Regions from separate parts of the Homo sapiens genome. Here all the other regions are linked to region 2. The links are contacts of gene promoters, found by promoter capture Hi-C in blood cells and fetal thymus (Javierre and others, 2016). All regions are on one chromosome and are shown on one strand. Each heading gives the region's core, a stretch centred on a gene start or on the middle of the fragment in contact. The rest is flanking DNA. Distances are from core to core; before and after follow the strand shown.

Evidence for each region. Contacts are between HindIII fragments. The CHiCAGO score rates a contact against its expected background, and 5 or more counts as called.
Region 1: a fragment that was not itself captured here is called in contact with the fragment with the promoter of PPP1R2 in region 2 in 1 of 17 cell types (naive B cells); the score reaches 6.0 in naive B cells.
Region 3: a contact is called between a fragment that was not itself captured here and the fragment with the promoter of PPP1R2 in region 2, in 3 of 17 cell types (fetal thymus, erythroblasts and megakaryocytes). The highest score is 7.3, in fetal thymus.

The regions. Positions count from the first base shown.
Region 1 is chr3:194,652,961-194,656,298 of GRCh38, reverse strand. LSG1 (large 60S subunit nuclear export GTPase 1) reads left to right here. Exons shown (of 14, transcript NM_018385.3): 8 at 3,157-3,338. Among named protein-coding and RNA genes, the nearest start is that of LSG1, 18 kb to the left of the region's middle. RefSeq lists an enhancer at 1,547-1,596. The HindIII fragment of the contact is 868 bases long and covers 1,494-2,361 here.
Region 2 is chr3:195,541,543-195,545,278 of GRCh38, reverse strand. It overlaps PPP1R2 (protein phosphatase 1 regulatory inhibitor subunit 2), which reads left to right and starts at 1,954. Exons shown (of 6, transcript NM_006241.8): 1 at 1,954-2,375. The coding sequence starts at 2,254. RefSeq lists a silencer at 1,743-1,982. The HindIII fragment of the contact is 8,075 bases long and covers 1-2,657 here.
Region 3 is chr3:194,690,010-194,693,541 of GRCh38, reverse strand. No RefSeq gene overlaps it. Among named protein-coding and RNA genes, the nearest start is that of FAM43A, 5.9 kb to the right of the region's middle. The HindIII fragment of the contact is 8,231 bases long and covers 1-3,532 here.

The DNA of each region.
Region 1 (3,338 bases), core at 678-3,177, 890 kb after region 2:
ATTTGTTGGAGTTCTTTGTAGATTCTGGATATTAGCCCTTTGTCAGATGAGTAGGTTGCAAAAATTTTCTCCCATTCTGTAGGTTGCCTGTTCACTCTGATGGTGGTTTCTTTTGCTGTGCAGAAGCTCTTTAGTTTAATTAGATCCCATTTGTCAATTTTGGCTTTTGTTGCCATTGCTTTTGGTGTTTTAGACATGAAGTCCTTGCCCATGCCTGTGTCCTGAATGGTATTGCCTAGGTTTTCTTCTAGGGTTTTTATGGTTTTAGGTCTAACATGTAAGTCTTTAATCCATCGTGAATTAATTTTTGTGTAAGGTGTAAGGGAGGGATCCAGTTTCAGCTTTCTACATATGGCTAGCCAGTTTTCCCAGCACCATATATTAAATAGGGAATCCTTTCCCCATTGCTTGTTTTTGTCAGGTTTGTCAAAGATCAGATAATTGTAGATGTGTGGCATTATTTCTGAGGGCTCTGTTCTGTTCCATTGGTCTATATCTCTGTTTTGGTACCAGTACCATGCTGTTTTGGTTACTGTAGCCTTGTAGTATAGTTTGAAGTCAGGTAGCGTGATGCCTCCAGCTTTGTTCTTTTGGCTTAGGATTGACTTATGCCAAGCGTTTTTATGTGAATATAGATATATTCACAAGAATATACCAATAATAATTATTACTATAATTAAAACTAACCCATAAAATTAATCAGTTAATAAAAACATATTCTTTACCAGACACCACTATTCTAAACACTTTACATATTTTACTCATTTAGTCTTCTCGGCAGTAAGTATAGATACTTACCATTCTTAGGCAGAAGAATAGTTTGCCCTGTTAAACCATTATTTCTATTGTTTCCAGTCTTTCCTGGAAGTCAATGTCTTGGTGAAGTTTTAAAATAGATACTTATCATTATATTGCTCTGCCCTGATGCAATAACCCTATCAAAAATGGAAGAGATTAGTTTCTGCATCTGTGGCCTTCTTGATTTACTAACCAAGATAACAAAGGGAAATGAAATTTTTTGCATGATCAGTTTTCAGGGAACTCACTGCCTCCTGTTGATGACTGTCTTATTTTTAGGGCTCACCAGGTCACCTGTAGAATTGTTTTAATGTCAGTGTCTGGATTAACAGTGTATAGTTTATGGAAGATATTCTTTCCTCCTTTTTAAGAGTGAGGCGCCATTTGCTTCTCCCAAGTTTTCTGGACTCTGCTGTTTTCCATGATTTCTCAGGTTGTGAAGTCTTACTTGTAACTTGATACTAATATCTGTAATTTGGGTATCAAACATGAATGTATTAGAAGTAGCCTGATATTCACTGTTTTCTTGCCTGGAAGTTTGGGTCATCTTCTATAGTTGTTCAACTTCAGTTGTTTGAAAAACGTGAATGTTCTGAAAAAATGTGACATTTTTCAAAAGACACAGGCCAATTCTGAGTTGAGTATCTCTGGTTTCCTTTGGTCACCTTGAAAGTGCACTGTGTTCCCCGAAAGCTTGACTTTTTCCTTCTTTCTTTTAATTTTTAACATAATTACGGCAAAGTCCTTTGATTGTCTTTAGTACTTTTCCTGAAGCTGAACTGCTCCCCGCTGTAGTTTTTCTACTACACATTCATGTTCAGTTCACATTCTTGTTTTTATGCTACTTTCATATTTGAAAATGACTCAAAAGAGCCCACAGTGACGACACTGACTTCTTTACCTTCGCTGCTCATTTACCATAGAAATTGCTTCCAGTTCTATATTTCTCTCATAAGCCAGGGTTCTTTTTGAGTTGCCAGGCTTGATTGTTAAATCATACCTATTTTTCCTGACATTTTGTTTTTATTTCTGCTTTCTTAAGATTTAGGATACATGTTTGAGTTCATCGTGTCCCCTTCTGTGACTGTTAATCATTCTAACAAAGCTACTTGGAAATGATACCAGGTTTCCATCACTTTCAAGTCCCGACAAATTCACCCTTATTTCTGCTTTGTTGTCAAGAGGGATTCAGAAGAATTAACACACCCTTGAGTAGAAAATGATTTGTACCTTTCACTTTCCAAAGGGAATCTTTCATCAGTAAATAATTTCCACATGTGGAGTTGAGTTTTGCTGCCACATTTCACACACAGGGATCTGTGTGTGCTCCATGGTGCTTTGACTTCTAAAAGCAATTATGAGAGAAGAGCAGATTTCTTTAAACATGCCAACCACCGTCTTTAAAAATACAAATGTAAAATGAACTGCAAATGGCAAAGTCTGCCCTTGCTTTGTGCAGAGAGGAGTATGTTAAATGTGTTGTTGTTCCTGAGAAATGCTTTGTTTTATCATGCAGCCCATTGCAAAATAACGTACTGTCAAGAGTTCAGTTTAACATAAGCTTTTCCCCTTGCTGTCTTTGAAGAGTTTTGTTGTTGTTGTTGTGGTGGTGGTTTTCTGTTTGTTTTTGTAGACACCCAGTCTTGCTGTGTTGCCCAGACTGGTTTTGAATTCCTGGCCTTGAGCGATCCTCCCACCTCCGCCACCCAAGCGCTGGGATTACAGGCGTGAGCCGTAGCACCCGGCCTAGAGTTATTTTAAATTACAAAAGTAATACATGTTCTTTGTACAGAGTTCAAATAGTACAGAAACATATAAAGTAAAAAGTGAAGGGAAGGTCCAATTCTCCCCTCCAGGAGGGCGCCACCCTCGATGGTTGTCTGTCACGGCACTGAACTGAAAGGCTTTCGTTGTCTCCTCCCTGTGTTCACCTTTCCATCTCCGTCGAACTTTGCTTGTCCCCTGTTCATCTTTTTTTTTTTTTTGTGAGACAGAGCCTTGTCTGTTGCCCAGACTGGAGTGCAGTGGCACCATCTCGGCTCACTGCACCCTCCGCCTCTCAGGTTCAAGCAGTTCTCCTGCTTCAGCCTCCCAAGTAGCTGGGATTACAGGTGTGCACCACCACGCCTGGCTAATTTTTGTATTTTTAGTAGAGGCGGGGTTTCACCATGTTGGTCAGCGTGGTCTCAAACTCCTGACCTCAAATGATCTGCGCACCTTGGCCTCCCAAAGTGCTGGGATTACAGGCTTGAGCCACCACGCCCAGCCATCCTCTGTCCATCTTACAACTCATTAAGTATTTTTACTAGAGTGGAAACTGCAGTTATATACTTCTGAGCGTTTCTATTATTTTGTCAGGAAGAGGCAAACAGAGATGATAGACAAAGCAACACAACCAAGTTTGGACATTCCAGTTTCGACCAGGCTGAAATTTCCCACAGTGAATCCGAACATCTCCCAGCTAGGGATTCTCCTTCACTTAGTGAAAATCCCACAACGGATGAAGATGACAGTGAGTATGAGGACTGTCCAGAGGAGGA
Region 2 (3,736 bases), core at 705-3,204:
GTTAGTTAATTAACTAATAAAACACTTTATGTCATACGATCGTAGTCCCTTTCATTAGAGGGTCTGAAAGCAAGCTGTTGCTTAATCAAGGGCCCAGTCACAGTTGAGTTCAGGGATGCTGAACTCAGTGATGCTTCCCAGCCCAAGCAGGAACAAAGCAAATCTGCCCAATAATTTGGAACATACAGGGAAGTTTGTGTATTCCCTTGAAAACAGGATTGCCATCACTGACCTAGACTCCTGCTGACAGGGCAGGAGACGCAACACAGGTGTTGAACACTGGGGTGGAAAGAACTCAGGAAGGGAAGGGAGGTGGCCATCCTGCTTCCCCTCGCTGAGAACCCTCTCTCTCTGCTCCATGGGCTGGACAGGGCTGTCAGGGTGTAATGTTAGATCCACTGAGCAGTCCTGGCCTGGGAGGGAGAGACGGCACCAGTGGATATTTGACTGGGAACAAAGGTGGGGACAGTGCCAACAGTGACTGTGCAGGCCCCTGGCTGAGGCAAATCCCTGGGGAACACATTCCACTCTGTGACCAGCAACCCTGTTTCCCTTCTCCCCTTCCAGCTCACTTCCCCTCCATTATCTCCATCCACATCCATTCCCATACTGAGGCCCTGTTCTGTGCCAGGAACTCATCTAGGAGCTAGGGGCTCGGGGCCAGACGATAAAAACAATCGTTTTCAGAACCCTACAGTCATCCCTGAGGGGCAGAGTCCTAAGGACACAGAACAGGGTCATCCTCAAAAGGCACAGAGCCTGTGTTAAAGAAGATGAGACTGTGGTCCAGAGATGAGCCATGGGAGTGAAACTGCTGCTATAGGGGCTAGATAGGGGAAAACGCTTCCTCTCACCCCCCACAGCAGTGGACAGACATTGCTGGGAGCGAGGTGTCAGCTCAATCTAAGAACTCCCAGAGTCAGAGCTGTCCAAAAACAAAATGAGTTACACGGGGGTGTGGCGGGCTTCTAGCCCCTGGGGTTGTTGGAGAAACAGGCTGAATAGCCACCTTATGGGCCTGCTTGACAAGGTCCCTTCCAGGACCAGTGGTCTGTGAATCCGCAGGGGCTGGTCCACCGGAGGGGCCAGTTCTGGGTGGCTCAGTCTGCTGTGCTCTAACCTGTGGTGAGGACGATAAAAAGGCCTGATCAAGAAAGAGTCATGGAAAAGAGCCTGGTGATGAGCGAGCTGCGGACTGGACTTGGGAGAGGGAGGGAAGGGAGTGTACAGGGACCATAACAAATACCACACACGAGGTGGCTTTAAGCAATGGAAATGGGCTCTCCGTTCTGCAGGCTTGAAGTCCACATCAACCTGCGGCAGAGTTGGTTCCCTCTGTGGGGGGAACCTGTCGCGGCCTCTGCGGGCCCAGGAGGTCCTTGGCTGGGAGATGTGTCCCTGCCGCCCTCCCGTCTCCTGCGCTCTCTGCCTAGACGGGTTGTGCGACGGCGGGGGTCGCTGCCCGTCTGTCCGTCGGCTTCTCCAGCGGTAAAAGGAGGTGAGGCGATTCCAATGCAGACATTCTATGATTTCATAATAGGCCTCTAAGGACCACTCCAATGCTGGCAGTCCATGCTTTTATAATAGGCAGTTCGGCTGTTTACACGGGCGAAATGGAAAGAGGAGATACCCGTTTTCTTCAAGTCAGCTAACCTCTCTGCGGAGTGACGTCACCTCGAGTCTCAGTCTGCTGATCTAAAAAATAAAAATAACACTACGGCCTCACAAGGTGGTGGGACGAGGGTGCTCGAGAGACGCGCGGGTCCGGGAAGCAGCAAGCCCGGGCGCTCTCCCGCAGGTTCTCAGAGACAGCTCCCGCCTCCCAGCGCCGCGCGGGGGCGGGGCGAGCAGCCCGGGCGGGACGGAGGGGGCGGGGCGAGGAGGTCGGCTTTGTTCTCGCCCCGCCCTCTCCCCGCCTCCTCCCTAGATATCGCGAGAGGGCGGGTCCGCTTGGCTTCGGCGTCGCGTCGCTCCTGCGCTGGAGCTCTAGGCCGGCGTCTCTCCGCGAGCCGCGGGTCAAGTGCCAGTGGCTAAGGGTGCGCGAGTAGCCGCCACCCGTTCGGCGTTGGCTCTGGCGTCGGGGTCGTTGTGTCGTGACAACCGCTGCGGTAGCCGTTTCCGAGGCAGCAGTTGCGGCCGCTTTAGCCCTGAGCGGGATCTGCGGCTGCCTGCGAGTCTCTGCTGTGCCGACCCTTCTCTTCGCGGACCCCACGCCAAGCAGCGACCCTGAGCCGACAGCCGGAGCGCCCGGCAATGGCGGCCTCGACGGCCTCGCACCGGCCCATCAAGGGGATCTTGAAGAACAAGACCTCTACGACTTCCTCTATGGTGGCGTCGGCCGAACAGCCCCGCGGGAATGTCGACGAGGAGCTGAGGTGAGCGCTGGGAGGGACGGCCTGGGAGCCCCTCCTTCCCGCCGGGCCCGTTACCTACCCAGACCCCAGGGGCGGGCGGGCGGCGTGGATGCGGCTCGGGTGCCGCTCGAGTCTCTTCTCCTGCCCGGCTAGCCGCGGGTGGGAGCGATCTTTAAGAAGGCTGGGCGATGACGTTTATCATGCTTCCTTTTTTTTTTTTAAGCATTTGGGCATATATAATATTTTTAAACATCATCTTTGAACTTTCTGTAATCGGGAACATCAAAGAATGAAATTGAAGCTTCAGATCTTCGACTGTTAAGCTTTTACTATTTCTTAACCTCATCTCTGAGGTATCTAAAATTCTTCGATAATTACAGTGTATTTTCTTGCTTTGGGAACCCTTTAAGATCTAGTCTCAAGCTAATAGGCGATCCGTCAAAGAAGAGACCATTTCCCCCATTAGCATTGTGCCACACTGTATTTCTGCATCTGCAACCAGAGTTTTGGGTGCTTTCTAGTTTTTGTTCCTGTTCAGAGATAGATCTAAGCTCAAAACAGTTCAAAGAGGAGCAACTTGAAATGACCCAGTGGTAATTTAGTTGCTCTTGCATACGCTAAAGATACACATGTAAAAAGTTGTTGACCTGAGCATTGTATGTAATATTTATAATATAATTGGAAACGACCGGAAGTCCATTAGTAAGAGCTGGTGAAATATTAATTACGGTACGTTTGTATAATGGAACAATATACTAGCCTTTAAAAAAAGAAAGGTAGGCGTTTATGCACGGAGAAAATGTTGCAGTACAGTATCTGTAGTGGGTTAGAAGTGCACGGGGGCTTGGGCGTTGCAAGATACTAAAAATAGAAGGACTCTACTTTCTGAAAATAAGGCTTAAGAAAAGTTACCATTGAAATTGGTAGTCAGAAGCTAAAATGAGGATGTTTGTGAAATCTCAGAATATAGGAACCTAGGGCATTCCTGGATAAAGGATCTTATTTAGGACCATAAAAGGAACTACTGCTTGGTGGTGGTAAATTTTAGGGATTTGTGTTACCTTGAAGGAAATATTGAGTAGGTTCATAGGTTAGAATCGTGGCCTTTTGGGGCTGGAAAGGACCTTAGTTTTTGTCTAGCAACTCCCACGCTCATGGATGCTTGAATCTTACATTCTCTCACACACAATTTTCCAACTTCTTTGGGCTAAGCCACGTTAAATGGAGTGCTGGGGGAGTGTGATGTGTAGGTCATGGAATTAAGAAGACAGAATTTCACCAGAACATAACTGAAGCAGGAGAACCAAGTTAGTTAAAAGATAAATAACATCCAGGCGTGGTGGCTCACGCCTGTAATCTCAGCACTTGGAGAGGCCAAGGTG
Region 3 (3,532 bases), core at 606-3,105, 850 kb after region 2:
GGATTGGTGCTGGCTGATGCCTCTGTGCTTGGTTTGCTTTTCCTTTAAAGCCTGGGCTATCTTTTCTTTCAGGCAATATAAGATATCAGCTAGGTTTGTGGAAAGGAGAAATTCAGATGGGGAGCTGTGCCATAGGGGAATGAGGTGTGAACTGGAGAAGGAGGAAGGGGTAGAGATGAAGAGGAGGGGAGAAGAGGAGGCCTTCAGAAATGTCACTCCCCATGGAGGGTTAGAAACAAGGTCCTTTTCTGGTACCACTGAGCAGCTCAAGAAAGAGGAAGGAAGGAGTGCCAAGTTCCAGGGCCATCTTCTCACCATTCAAACCACCAAGACGATGGTTAGTCAAGGCGCTCAAACTGGGTCACAAGAGCTTTAGAGCAAGCAGTGGGGGTTTGGTCTAGGGGACACTGGGCCTACGAACAGGGGTGAGCCAGAAGGAACAGAAACGGCCCCGGCTACTGGTCAAGCCAGATCCAGGTGTGGCCGCTGTAGTTTGGATATTTGTTCCCCCAAATCTCTTCTTGAAATTTGATCCCAGTGTTGGAGGTGGGGCCTAATGGGAGGTATTTGGGTCATGGAGGTGGATCCCTTATGAATAGGTTAATGCTCTCCCTGTGGGGAGACGGAGGCAATGAGTGATTTCTCTCTCACTCGAGAGCAGGTTGTCCAAAAGAGCCTGGCACTGCCCTTCTCCCTATCTCTTGCTTCCTTCCTCTTGCCATTTGATTCCTGCTCCAGTTCACCTCCCGCCATGAGTGCAAGCAGCCTGAGGCCTCACCAGAGCAGAAGCTGGCACCACACTTCTTGTACAGCCTGCAGAACCTTGAGCCAAATAAACCTCTTTCCTTTATAAATTACCCAGCCTTGCCAGGCATGGTGGCTCATGCCTGTAATCCCAGCACTTCGGGAGGCCAAGGCGGGTGGATCACTTGAGGTCAGGAGCTCAAGACCAGCCTGACCAACATGGTGAAACCCTGTTTCTACTAAAAAAAAAAAAAAGCACAAAATTAGCCGGGTGAGGTGGAGGGCACCTATATTCCCAGCTACTCGGGAGGCTGAGGCAGGAGAATCGCTTGAACCCGGGAGATGGAGGTTGTGGTGAGCCAAGGTCATGCTATTGCACTCTAGCCTGGGCAACAAGAGTGAAACTCTGTCTCAAAATAAATAAATCAATAAATATAAATAAATTACCCAGCCTCAGGTATTCTTTATAGCAACACGAAACGGACTAAGACAGTGGACATGTGCAACAAGCCTGGAGCAGAGAGTGCAGAGCGCCCTGGGCCTAGCACCCTCCTGGCTGCCTGGAGCCCTGAGTAGTTCCCCATGTGTCAGTCATGGCTCCTACCCCAGCAGTCCGTGCACATTTCTAGCTCTGTCATGCATCACTTAGCAGCAGATGCTGGGACTACTGATGCATACCACACAGAGGAAAGAGTTCTGCTTATTAAATTACTAAATCCTGTTTAAAAAGACGGCAACTTGCTCCTAATAGAATTTCTATGTTTCTCGTGATCCTTGGCAACTACAATGAGATTTTTAAATCTCCAGTATGGTGCCAGGGGTAGATTCTTCCAACCAGTTCTCTCTCTACTCACAAGCAGAACCCTCAAAAACAGCTCTGTCCCCTGGGAGGGAATTGTGCTTTCTTAGTATAACAGAGCCTTTCTAATTTGGTTAAAATCTGTTCTGCTGACTGTGGGGCAGTGAGAGGTGTTTCTTTAGGGAAACCATGTGTGTCCACACACGTGTGTGTGGAGGGGGTTCTCTGAAGCTGTCATAGTTGGGAGGGTATGAAATACTATTGTTTATTTTATGCCATTTTATTCCTCCCACCTTCCTGCTTACATATGCGACAAATGGTAGAAGTGAACATGGGATGTTTGTGCTGTGAGGAGTCGATGAATGCCTCCTCCCAGACTCACGCTGCCACCCCTGGAGGACCGCGTGCCGCCGGGAGTCACCCTGTTTTTCATGCAGTCGATGCTGCATTGTTGAACACGGAGGATTACCTAGGCTGGGAAAGAACGTGGAAAGTGTCTCAGTGCATTTAAAGTACCATCAGGTTAAGTCATGGAGAAACATGAGCCTCACTTTGCAGGAAAGAAAAGCTAAATTTGATGAGTAAACCAGACTTCAGGTGTTTTCTGGAAGGTGTATTTTATCTAATGACTTAGCTTTGCTTTTGTCGCTCCATTCTTTTCCCTCTGAGCTCCAGGAGCAAAGTAGTTTTAGGGTCTTTCTTTTATTTTCATTCAAAACATCTCTTCTTACTCTAGTGATATCATCCCTGGAAGACTGAGAAGTCAGAAGAGGTGAATCACGTGTCACCTTCACATCTCTTCTAGAATTACATCAGTCAGAGCTCTGAGGTGCAGTGGGGATCGATGCCAAAAAGCAGAGGGGAGGAAGGAGAGATGGGGAGGGCACAGACGGAGGAGGAAGGGAGCTGGCTCTTTCCAGCCTGCTTATTTTCTTCTTCCTCCTCCTCAACCTTCAAGCCCCCCTTCCTATTTATAAATCACATGAGAGGAAATATCAGACTTTAAAGAGATGGCTGCTTTATATTTATTGATGGTGTTGGTTTCAACACTATTTGCCTGAACTTTTGGACCAACCACCACATGCCTGTCAGTCACAGATGAAAGCCAACATTGGCATTCTCACAGGACACTTAAACTAGATAAGAATGAAGACACACAGACCCTGCCCTGTCTCCCAAGTATTAGCCATATTATCTTCACTCTGTCTCATCTCTTCATCAGTTTCAAACAGCAGAGGAACTTGGCTATGCATGGGAATAATTTCAAATGTGAAATCTAGTCACGCAGGCTAGTGATGGCCCACACAGCCGTCTGCTTATCAGGTGAGCACACTGGTGTGGAAGGGCTGGGATGGGTGGCTGGGCTGAGACTGGACTTTCCTGACCTCTCTCTAGCTGGGGTTTTTAATGTCATTCAATGATGTGTATCTGAGGTATTCAGGGAGAGGGATCGGGACGCACAACCAAGCCAAAATATAATAGATTCAAAGGCCTGGACGTCCTAAGGCCCTTAAGACTGAATTTTTTTTAAATGTTTTCCACTCAGCTGGGTACAGTGGCTCACGCCTGTAATGCCAGCACTTTGGTAGGCTAAGGTGGGCAGATCACCTGAGGTCGGGAGTTTGAAACCAGCCTGACCAACATGGAGAAACCCCATCTCTACTAAAAATACAAAATTAGCCCGGCGTGGTGGCGCATGCCTGTAATCCCAGCTACTTGGGAGGCTGAGGCAGGAGAATCGCTTGAACCCGGGAGGTGGAGGTTGCGGTGAGCTGAGATTGCACCATTGCACTCCAGCCTGGGTGACAAGAGTGAAACTCCGTCTCAAAAAAAAAAAAAAAATATATATATATATACACACACACACACACACACACACACACACACATATTTTCCACTCGCCCCCTTTGCTTTTCTTTTTTAAAGATAGTTCTATGCCTGAACCATTCCTGTTAATTAGGAAGAAAATCTTTCACCCCTCTTTCCTCT